Regions from separate parts of the Homo sapiens genome. Here region 2 is linked to region 1. Evidence: promoter capture Hi-C in human tissues and cell types (Jung and others, 2019). All regions are on one chromosome and are shown on one strand. Each heading gives the region's core, a stretch centred on a gene start or on the middle of the fragment in contact. The rest is flanking DNA. Distances are from core to core; before and after follow the strand shown.

The links. Contacts are between HindIII fragments. The study calls those that stand out against the background at their distance.
Region 2: a contact is called between a fragment that was not itself captured here and the fragment with the promoter of CTNNBL1 in region 1, in 1 of the 25 tissues and cell types used here (IMR-90 fibroblasts).

What each region holds. Positions count from the first base shown.
Region 1 is chr20:37,691,890-37,696,910 of GRCh38, forward strand. It overlaps CTNNBL1 (catenin beta like 1), which reads left to right and starts at 2,141. Exons shown (of 16, transcript NM_030877.5): 1 at 2,141-2,263. The coding sequence starts at 2,234. RefSeq lists an enhancer at 2,419-2,478. The HindIII fragment of the contact is 21,229 bases long and covers 1-5,021 here.
Region 2 is chr20:37,977,541-37,982,561 of GRCh38, forward strand. No RefSeq gene overlaps it. Among named protein-coding and RNA genes, the nearest start is that of TTI1, 53 kb to the right of the region's middle. The HindIII fragment of the contact is 8,966 bases long and covers 1-5,021 here.

The sequences.
Region 1 (5,021 bases), core at 891-3,390:
GACGTAGTCTTGCTCTGTCGCCAGGCTGGAGTGCAGTGGTGCCATCTTGGCTCACTACAATCTCCACCTCCCTGGTTCAAGCGATTCCCCTGCCTCAGCCTCCCAAGTAGCTGGGACTACAGGCACGTGCCACCACACCTGGCTAATTTTTTGTATTTTAGTAGAGATGGGTTTTCACCATGTGGGCCAGGAAGATCTCAATCTCCTGACCTCGTGATCTGCCCTCCTCGGCCTCCCAAAGTGCTGGGATTACAGGCGTGAGCTACCACACCCGGCCGGGCACAGTCCATATTCTTATATAAGTAGGAGGGGGAAAGACACCCAAATAGACTGAATTCAATGCAGATTGCATAGGTGATCCTTTAAAAACATAAGCCCAGTCACAAAACTACCTTGCTTAAAACTTTCCTTATGCCGTTAGCATAAAATCCAATCTCTCTCTCTTTTTTTTTTTTTTTTTTTTGAGACAGAGTCTTGCTCTGTCACCCAGGCTGGAGTGCAGTGGTGGAATCTCAGCTCACTACAGCCTCTGCCTCCTGGGTTCAAGCGATTCTCCTGCTTCAGCCTCCCAAGTAGAGGCATGTGCCACCATGCCCAGCTAATTTTTGTAATTTTTAGTAGAGACGAGGTTTCACCATGGTGGTCAGGCTGGTCTCAAACTCCTGACTTCAAGTGATCTGCCCGCCTTGGCCTCCTAAAGTGCTGAGCTTACAGGCGTGAGCCACCACGCCCGGCCACGCCTAGCCAAAATCTAATCTCTTTACCATGGCACACAAGGCCCATTATGAAACCTCTCCCTCTACCAGGCACTGTACTAGGCTTGGGGGATACAGTGGTGAACATGACACACACATGTCCTGCTTGCATAGAGCTTGCAATCCAGTAAATGAGGCTGTCAAGAAACAAATAGTCAACCATTAAGCACAAAATTACAGAATGAGATATATACGTAGTGGAGCAGGTACTTGGAAAAAGAATAATGAGGAGAGAGGTTGATTACCTGGACCAGGGTGAGTTGAAGAAGCCCTTGTAAGAAAGTGACATTTGAGACCCGAAAGATGAGAGAATTGGATGAGGTATGGTGCTGATGGCCAGGCAGAAGGGGAGAGGATTTGTCATTCTGAGGAATAAGAATAATTTCTGTATAATTGGAGCCAGTGCAGATGGGATGGGGACCAAAATTATAAATATGAAGGGCATATAAATATAATATAATACATAAATATAATTATAAATATAAAGGACAGGGGCTTATGGAAGGAGGTTTAATTTCCTTTGAAGATGGAGCCTTAAGTCCCAGGTGCATTCTGATCTTGTTTAAGATCAGATGCACTCTGAATGATTCTCTTCCAATTATGGGCAACTTTCTCCTCCAGAAACCTTTTTATATCACCTGGGTAGCAAGGGGATCATCTAGTGACCGTTAGACTTCGCATAGATGAGCAGACACAAGCCTAGAGAGGGACATGTGATCACCAATAGTTTCTCAGCCAGTAATAGTTGTACAGCCTTGGAACAAGTCACTTTTTGAGCCAGCACTATCTGATAGAAATTAATGGGAACCACAAATGAGAGCCACATGTGTAATTTAAAACTTTCTACTAACCACATTTAAGAAGTAAAGAGAAACAGGTAAAATTCATTTTATAATATATGAATTTGACCCAGTATATCCAAAATATCATTTCAACCTGTAATCAATGTAAGTCTTAGAAATCTGGTGTGTATTTTATTTACACTTATGGCACATCTCACTTCGGAGTAGCCATATCTCAAGCGCTCGGTAGCCATATGTGGCTAGTGAGTAAAGTATTGGATGGTGCAGTTGGGAGCGTCAGTTTCCTTTTCTGTGAAATGAGGATAAATCACTGGAAGCTCGTGAGAGCGCACACGAAACACCCGGCACTCCGCCCTGGACACTAGGGACGCGCAATCAAGTTTGGTTTCTTCTGGTCCCTGCTCTCCCCTCCCGCCCCTCCTCTAAGTCTCCGCCCCCTTTCCCCGCCCCCTCAGGCTCCAGGCGGAAGCAACCCTGTTCCAAATGCAGCGCGCTTTACGGCGGCGCGTCCTTTTACCGCGGTGTGGCCGGCTCGCTTGTCGCTCGCACTTTTGCCCTATTGGCTCTGCGGCTCCGCTCGCCGCACTTTACGGCAGTGTGGCTGGAGCCGCGGCTGACGGGCCCGCGGTCTGGGCGTGAGTGCAGGGAAGTGGAGTATTTGCTGGGCCGGGTACCATGGACGTGGGCGAACTTCTGAGCTACCAGGTATGAGGGGCAGGGAGGGCCGAGCGACCGCGTTCTCACCTGGGCAGGGGTCGCAGGAGCCAGAGCCCTTTCATCTCACCTCCTCTCGCCTCACTCCCGGGCCCTCTAACTTCTCATGCCACCCGGGGTCTCAGCCCCTCGTTTTACTTTGCTCTCCGAAGCCCTCCTGGGCCCTTTCGATTCATCCCTTCTCAAGACCTGAGCCCTTCACCTCCTCTTCCTCACCCTGGGGCCTGGTTCCCTGAAACTCCTCTGAAACCCCAGACTATCCTTTTTTTCACAACCATGTCCTCTCAGCTCTCATGTCCCCCCAGTCATTGAGGTGATGGTGGTGGCGGCGGTGGGAGTGCACTGGTCTCACTTGGATTTGATCTCCAGCTTCTCCACTGACTGGCTATGTGGCTTTTGGACAAGTCATTCCCCCCCTCTTTGAACCAAGTTTTTGTATCTATATAGTGGAGACACTAATAACTGCCTTAGTAGGGTTGTTTGAGGACTGTACCAACTGATATGTATGAAAGCTGGTTTTAAAGTGTGGAAAGCTGTGCTTGTGTTTACTGCGATTTGCAGGAGATGTTGGGAATTCTAGCATGGAATGAGTTTCTAGGAATCTTGCTCAGGGTCCCCCTTGCCTAGGAAACTTGTGGGGAAACTGTATGGGACCTAGAGAGCAGAAAGGGCTTGTCCAAAGTCACTCAGAAACAAGGAGCTGGAATTTGAGCTCAGGCGTACTGACTTCCACCCCAAAGTTTTTCCCCCACTTTGATTCCATAGGAGGGTCATTGCGAGGAGCAGTAGAGCTGCACTGCCGAATGTCGTAGCCACTAGCCACATAGGCTGTTGATTGCTTGAAATGTGACTAGTCTGAATTGAGAAATACTGTAAGTATAAAGACACATTTGGGTTGGAGACTAGTATGGAAAAAGTGAAATTTTTATATTGATTACATGATCGTACTGATTATATCAATTACATTGGTTATTGGTCATATTGATTAAATGATCATATTTTGGATAATGGGTGAAATAAAATATACTTAATTAATTTTTAAAATTTTATTTTATTGTTATTTAGAGACAGGATCTTGCTCTGTCGCCCATGCTGGAGTGCAGTGGCACAATCATTGCTCACAGTAGCCTTAAACTCCTAGGTCTAAGGTATCCTCCCAAGTAGCTAGGACTGCAGGCAGGCATCACTATGCTTGGCTGATTTTTAAATTTTTTGTAGAGACAGGGTCTTGCTATGTTGCCCAAGATGGTCTCAAACTCCTAGCCTCAAGCAGTCTTCCCACTTGGCCTCCCAAAGTGCTGGGATTACAGGTATGAGCCACCACACACCACACTCAGCCAATAAAATATGTTTAAAACCAATTTTAACTGCCCCTCTTGACATTTTAATGTGTTTACTAGAAAATTTAAAACAACATATATAGTTCAGCTTATATTTTTGTTAGACAGCCCTGCAGTCAAGAATAGGTGATTAAGAGCCATGAGTCTGGACCCCTAGGTTGCTGGCAGTCTCTGTTTTGCTACTAACTGGCTGCTGTAACCTTGAACAAAATACTTAATTTCTCTCTGCCTTGGTTTCTTCATCTGTAAATGGGGGACAGTGACGGTAGCTGCCTCACAGGGCTGTTGTGAAGCTGTTGAGAAATGGAAAGTCCTTAGACAATGCTTGCCAAAGAGTAAACATTCAGTAAATATTAGCAGTTATTTTCATACCACTCCCTCAGCCAAAGTACAAGAAATTGACCCTGGACGCTTAAGACATCATGGGAAAGAACAGTTCAGCAATGGGGAGCTATATAGCCAAGAGATTTTTCTTTTAAAGACAGTTTAATTGATAGTGAAAGATGAAGGGAAATAGGCAAGTTATTAAATCAGTGATTGTATGCCGGCTTGGAATTTCTAGAATGGCTAGCCCATTAAAGCTAGAAGAGTTTCATTCATTTGCTCAACAAATATATATTGAACACCTACTGTGTGCAAGGCAGTCTATCCACTGGGTATACAACACTGAATAAAAGACAAGATTCTTGCTTTTGTGGAGCATCTGGTGGGAAGTTACAAGATAATAAGTAAACAATGCATTCAGTTTGTGGTAAGTGCTGGGAAGGGAATATAGCAGAGTATGCTATAAAATTGCACTGCTTTGTATAGTAGCCACTAGGCACATGTGATTATTGAATACTTAAAATGTGACTAGTTTCGAATTTAGATCTGCTACATGTGCAAAATACACACTGGATTTCAAAGATTTAGTATGAAAATAATGTACAATATCTTTTTTTTTTTTTTTTTTTTTTTTTGAGATGGAGTTTCACTCTTGTTGCCCAGGCTGGAGTGCAATGGTGAGATCTCAGCTGACTGCAACCTCTGCCTCTTGGGTTCAAGCGATTCTCCTGCCTCAGCCTCCTGAGTAGCTGGGATTACGGGCATGCGCCACCACGCCTGGCTAATTTTTGTATTTTTAGTAGAGATGGGGTTTCTCCATGTTGGTCAGGCTGGTCTTGACTCCCAACCTCAGGTGATCTGCCAGCCTTGGCCTCCCAAAGTGCTGTGATTACAGGCGTGAGCCACTGCCCCTGGCCACGTGAAAATAATGTACAGTACCTTAACTTTTATGCTGATTACATGTTGAATAAATGATAACACTTACGATATATTGGATTAAAGAAAATATATTATTAAAATTAATGTTGCTTTTTAAAAAACTTTTAAAATGTGGCTACTAGAAAATGTAAAGTGGGCCGGGTGTG
Region 2 (5,021 bases), core at 1,865-4,364, 290 kb after region 1:
AGGAGAGGGACCCTGCATTGCTCATCACAGCTGGAGCTGCGGAAAATCATTTCTAGGGCTCCTCAACTCTCCGGAACAAGCCAGAGGAAGCCTCATCAGAGGTTCCATTCATCTGACTTCTTACTTTTAAACTTTAAATCACATATTTATGTGCCTCAAGTTGCCCATGAACCACAGCATGTCAAACAGTTCGGGGTTGATGGAAGAGGTACATTTTCTCGTCCTGGGACTTTCAGAAATACAATTTCATTGCCAGTCTCTCTCCCTTCCAATTTCTCCCGTATGCTGCCACGAGATGAATATTCCTAACATCCTGCTTTCAATACATTATTCACCTGTTCAAGGACCTTCCAAGGCCACTTCTTGATCCCTTAAGGCTGGGATACTCAGATTGGCATTCAAGGCCTTCCATAAATGTGGCCTCAGCGCCCACAACCTCCTCACATTCACTCTCCCAGACTGCCACACCACACGTGTCACAGGCCACAAATACAGGGTGGTGAGTGCCTGTCATATATGCCCTCCCCGATCCCAGCATCTCTCTTCCTGGTAACCAAACACAGTGCTTTCTTTTAGGGAAACCACTCCACCTCAACTCTTTCTCCATATGGTGTGGGTGTCTCCAGACTTGTCCCCGAGATTGCTGCAGTTCAGGGGTTGGCAAACTAAGGTCCGAGGGCAAAGCAAAAACAACAAACCACCAATGAACAAAAAAACAAAGGCCCCTGGCTTATTTTTTGTGAGGCCCTTGAGCTAATAACTTTTCCGTTTTTTTTTTTTTTTGGCCAGGCGCAGTGGCTCAAGCCTGTAATCCCAGCACTTTGGGAGGCCGAGGCAGGCGGATCACGAGGTCAGGAGATCGAGACCATCCTGGCTAACACGGTGAAACCCCATCTCTATTAGAAATACAAAAAAATTAGCCGGGCATGGTGGCGGGTGCCTGTTGTCCCTGCTACTCGGGAGGCTGAGGCAGGAGAGTGGTATGAACCCGGGAGGTGGAGCTTGCAGTGAGCCGAGACTGCACTACTGCACTCCAGCCTGGGCGACACAGCGAGACTCCCGTCTCAAAAAAAAAAAGAATTTTTCCGTTTTTTAAAAGATTGCGGCCCAGCACGGTGGTTCACACCTGTAATCTCAGCACTCTGGGAGGCTGAAGTGGGCTGATTGCTTGAGTCCAGGAGTTTGAAACCAGCCTGGTTCGCAATACAGCAAAATCCTATCTTTACTAAAAATACAAAAAATTAGCCAGGCATGGGGGTGTGCGCCTGTAAACCCAGATTACTTGGGAGGCTGAGGTGGGAGAATCATCTGAGCCAGAGAGATTGAGGCTGCAGGGAGCTGAGATCATACCACTGTACTCCAGCCTGTGCTACCAGAGTAAGACCCTGTTTCAACAACAACAGCAACAACAACAACAACAACAACAACAACAACAAGATTGTAAGAAAAAAAAAGTCAAAGAAGATGCCACAGAGACCTTTATGTATGGCCTGTAAACCCTAATAGATTCACTCTGGCCCTTTACAGAGAAAGTTGCTGACACCCGTTGTAGATGGACCAAGTTTGGTTTGGGGCTGGGCAAAGCACCGGCTGAGCCAATGAGAGCAAATCCTAGGATTTAGGCTGAGGTGGGAGGATCTCTTGAGCTCGGGAGTTCCAGGTCAGCTTGGGCAACAGTGCAAGACCCCATCTCTAAAAATCCAACCCAATCCTAGGCCTTTGGCTAGAGCTGTTAGGAGGTGCACATTCACTTGGGTGTGTGATGCTGAAGGAACAGGAGCCTGGAGTCAGAGTGAAGCCACCACTGGGGAAAGCAGCATCAGAAGACAGACAGGCTGGGGGAGCTGTGCCTGCGGGGCCTCTTCGTTCTGTGTGCCAAGGTATTTTTTTTTTTGCTCAAGCCAATTTTGAATTGGGTCTCCTGTCACTCCCAACCGAGTTATGATGTGTACAGATACTGGCAGGTATGCCCACAGCTCTTTGGGCATGTGATTTTTCCTGTCTGGAATGCCCATTATTCTGTCTGCTGAAATCTACTTGTCCACTAGGACGTCACCTCCTCCTAGAAGCCTTCTTTGATTCTCTCACCCTACCGTGGTTCTATTTTAGTTTCTGGGTGGTACATGCTGAGACCTAACCATCTACTTCCTCGGCTGTAACCGTCAAGAGGAGTGTGTATTGCAGCCATAACAAAGCCATGGGCAGCGGGGGAAAGATGTTGCTGGAGCCCCAGGCACAGTGTCAGATGCTTTAGAAACACTACCGCATCCATCCCCTCTGATGCAGCTGCCTGAAGAGGCAGTGGCAACAGCTCTAATTCAGAGATGGGAAAATGCAGCTCGGAAGTAAAATGACTTGCCCAAGGTCACACGGTTACAGAGAGGCGGAGTCAGAAATGAAGCCCAGCGCTGAGGAACTCCAAATCATCCATGCTCCTTCCACAACACAGTGCCTTCTGAAGACCACAGCCACCCCCCTCCAGCCATCTCCAAGGATCCCCTGGGTCCAGGTCTATACTTTCCTGCATCCTCCAGGAGCCTTCTACAGCCTGCAGATCACGGCTCAAACATCTCAAGCTGAAATTCAAGGCCTTGCAGTATCTACTTATTCATTCTATACCAACCCCTAACCCCAGCCCAAACAATACTTGAAGTGCTGGTGCGCCCTGAGTGAAATAAGAAACCCCTATTACTCCACAAGTTTTAACAGGGGGAATGGAGTATTTTGCAAAGCTTATGTTAACAAGGACTAGACTGAGTCAGCTGGACAGGTTCAAAATTAAAGTTGCCTGAATATAATCATAACTGGAGATGCACTCTAATGAGATTTTTTTTTTTTTTAAATCAAGTGCAACAATCTGCCTGCAAGAATCTGAAAGCAACTCAAGATAGCTTAACTCTTTGAGGAAGAAGTGGGTTTTCGGAGAGCCATGGTGTATCCTCTTATGCTGATTATCTCCTGGAGAGCTTTCGCAGAGTCCAAGTTTTTATCAGGATGCGTGTGCACATCTTCCTGGCCTCTCAGGACAGCATCGCGGCTTGCCACACCCAGATGCTCTGCGAAGGCAGGCTACTTTAATCTCACCGGGAGAGCTAAGTAATGCTCAGCAAGTCATGCCACCTCCCTGACCTGTTTTCTCATTTGTCAGAATCTGGAGACTGAATTAGCCTATCACTTTGGGTCCCCAGTGGAATTAGGAACAATGCTGTGAATGCTTTTACCATCTCCGTAATTAGAGGCATTTCCCTCCCTTTTTCCAAAGGAAATCATCCCAGAATTTTAAAGCTCAAAGAGAGTTAAGTGATTATCTTGCTCTTTGAGGGGGTTCTTAACTTGGGGTCCTTGCGGGGTCACAGGTGAAGCCTCTGGAATTGTACATGGAATCTTGTGAGGTCAGTGAAGCATCCTCAGCAGATGAGATAGTGCCCACTGCAGTCTTGGAGGATGCAGTGCCCTCCTGGGGGTAACAAGGGAGGAGCGGGAGCAAGTTTCTGGGGAGTGGGTCCCCACAATCCCAACAGATGAAGAGCTCCCCCTCTGGTCCAATCCCTCCACTTTACAGGCTGCAGAACTGAAAAAAGCCCCAAGAGAAGGATTCCCTGAGGGCTCAGGAGCCAGACAGAGCCAGGCTGCCGCCACCGAGACTGGAGCTGGACATAACTCGGCCCTTGCAGGGCGGAGTGGAGAAGGAATTGAGTGGGGCCTCTCCAGAGCTGGCTGGGGACCCTCACACCAATATGTCCCCATGCCAGGCACCCTCTGGGCTTTTTAAGAGTTTGGGGATTATCTATGTCACCGGAATTGTGATCTAGCCGGTGCCTCACCATGCACCTGTGAGGAAGCATTCATCATCCCTGGGATCCTTCAGCATACATGGGAGCCCTGGGGTGGGATGTGCACCTCAATTTACATAATCTGTGTGTTTTAAATTTCTCAGCTAGAAAAAAATCGAGTATTTATCTTGCCTTTTCTTTTCTTTTTTTTTTTCTTTTTGAGACGAAGTATTGCTCTGTCGTCCAGGCTGGAGTGCAATGGCGCGATCTCTGCTCACTGCAACCTCCGCCTTCCCTGGTTCATGCCATTCTCCTCCTCAGCCTCCCGAGTAGCCGGGATTACAGGCAGGTGCCATCTTGCCTTTTCCATACAAACTGTACCGGTAGGTTACCAGATGGTTGATGAAGGGAAGGTTCCCCTTACACAAGGACTCTGGTTAACAGCAAGCCAGCATGGCAGAATTAGAACAGCATTACTCTGCAATCCCTAATGAGTGTGTGGATTCCAGTGAGATCACCATGGTTGCTAATAACACAGTAAGATCAGACTTACATACCTCCTGATGGAAGTACGTAACACCACCTATGGAGGAGAAGTGCCAAAAACAAAGCTAAGAGACTCAATCCTGATCACGACTCTTACTCTGCCTCCCAATGGCCAGGAAACACAGGTGAGAGGAGGGGCCCAAGAAATGACCTCCATAGGGATGCAATCAATAAATCCAGACGGTGGGAAATGCTGTAGGAAAAATGACCGTGTTTCTCCACCAAAAAACTTACAAGGAAAATGAGAGAGAGGTGGAGGGGGAAATCTACACATTAAAAGAGATTTATTTTTTATTTTAGAGATGGAGTTTCGCTCTTGTTGTCCAGGTTGGAGTGCAATGGCGCAATCCTGGCTCACCACAACCTCCATCTCCTGGGTTCAAGTGATTCTCCTGCCTCAGCCTCCTGAGTAGCTGGGATTACAGGCATACACCACCACGCCCAGCTAATTTTGTATTTTTAGTAGAGACGGGGTTTTTCCATGTTGGTCAGGCTGGTCTCGAACTCCTGACCTCAGGTAATCCGCCCACCTCGGCCTCCCAAAGTGCTGGGATTACAGGCATGAGCCACTGCACCCGGCCTAAAAGAGATTTATTAGGGAATATACTGATACCAGCAATGTATATCACTTATTTGGATCCTGATCCAAACACACTGGGGAAATTTAGACACTGAAAATATCTGACAATATTAAAGGATCAT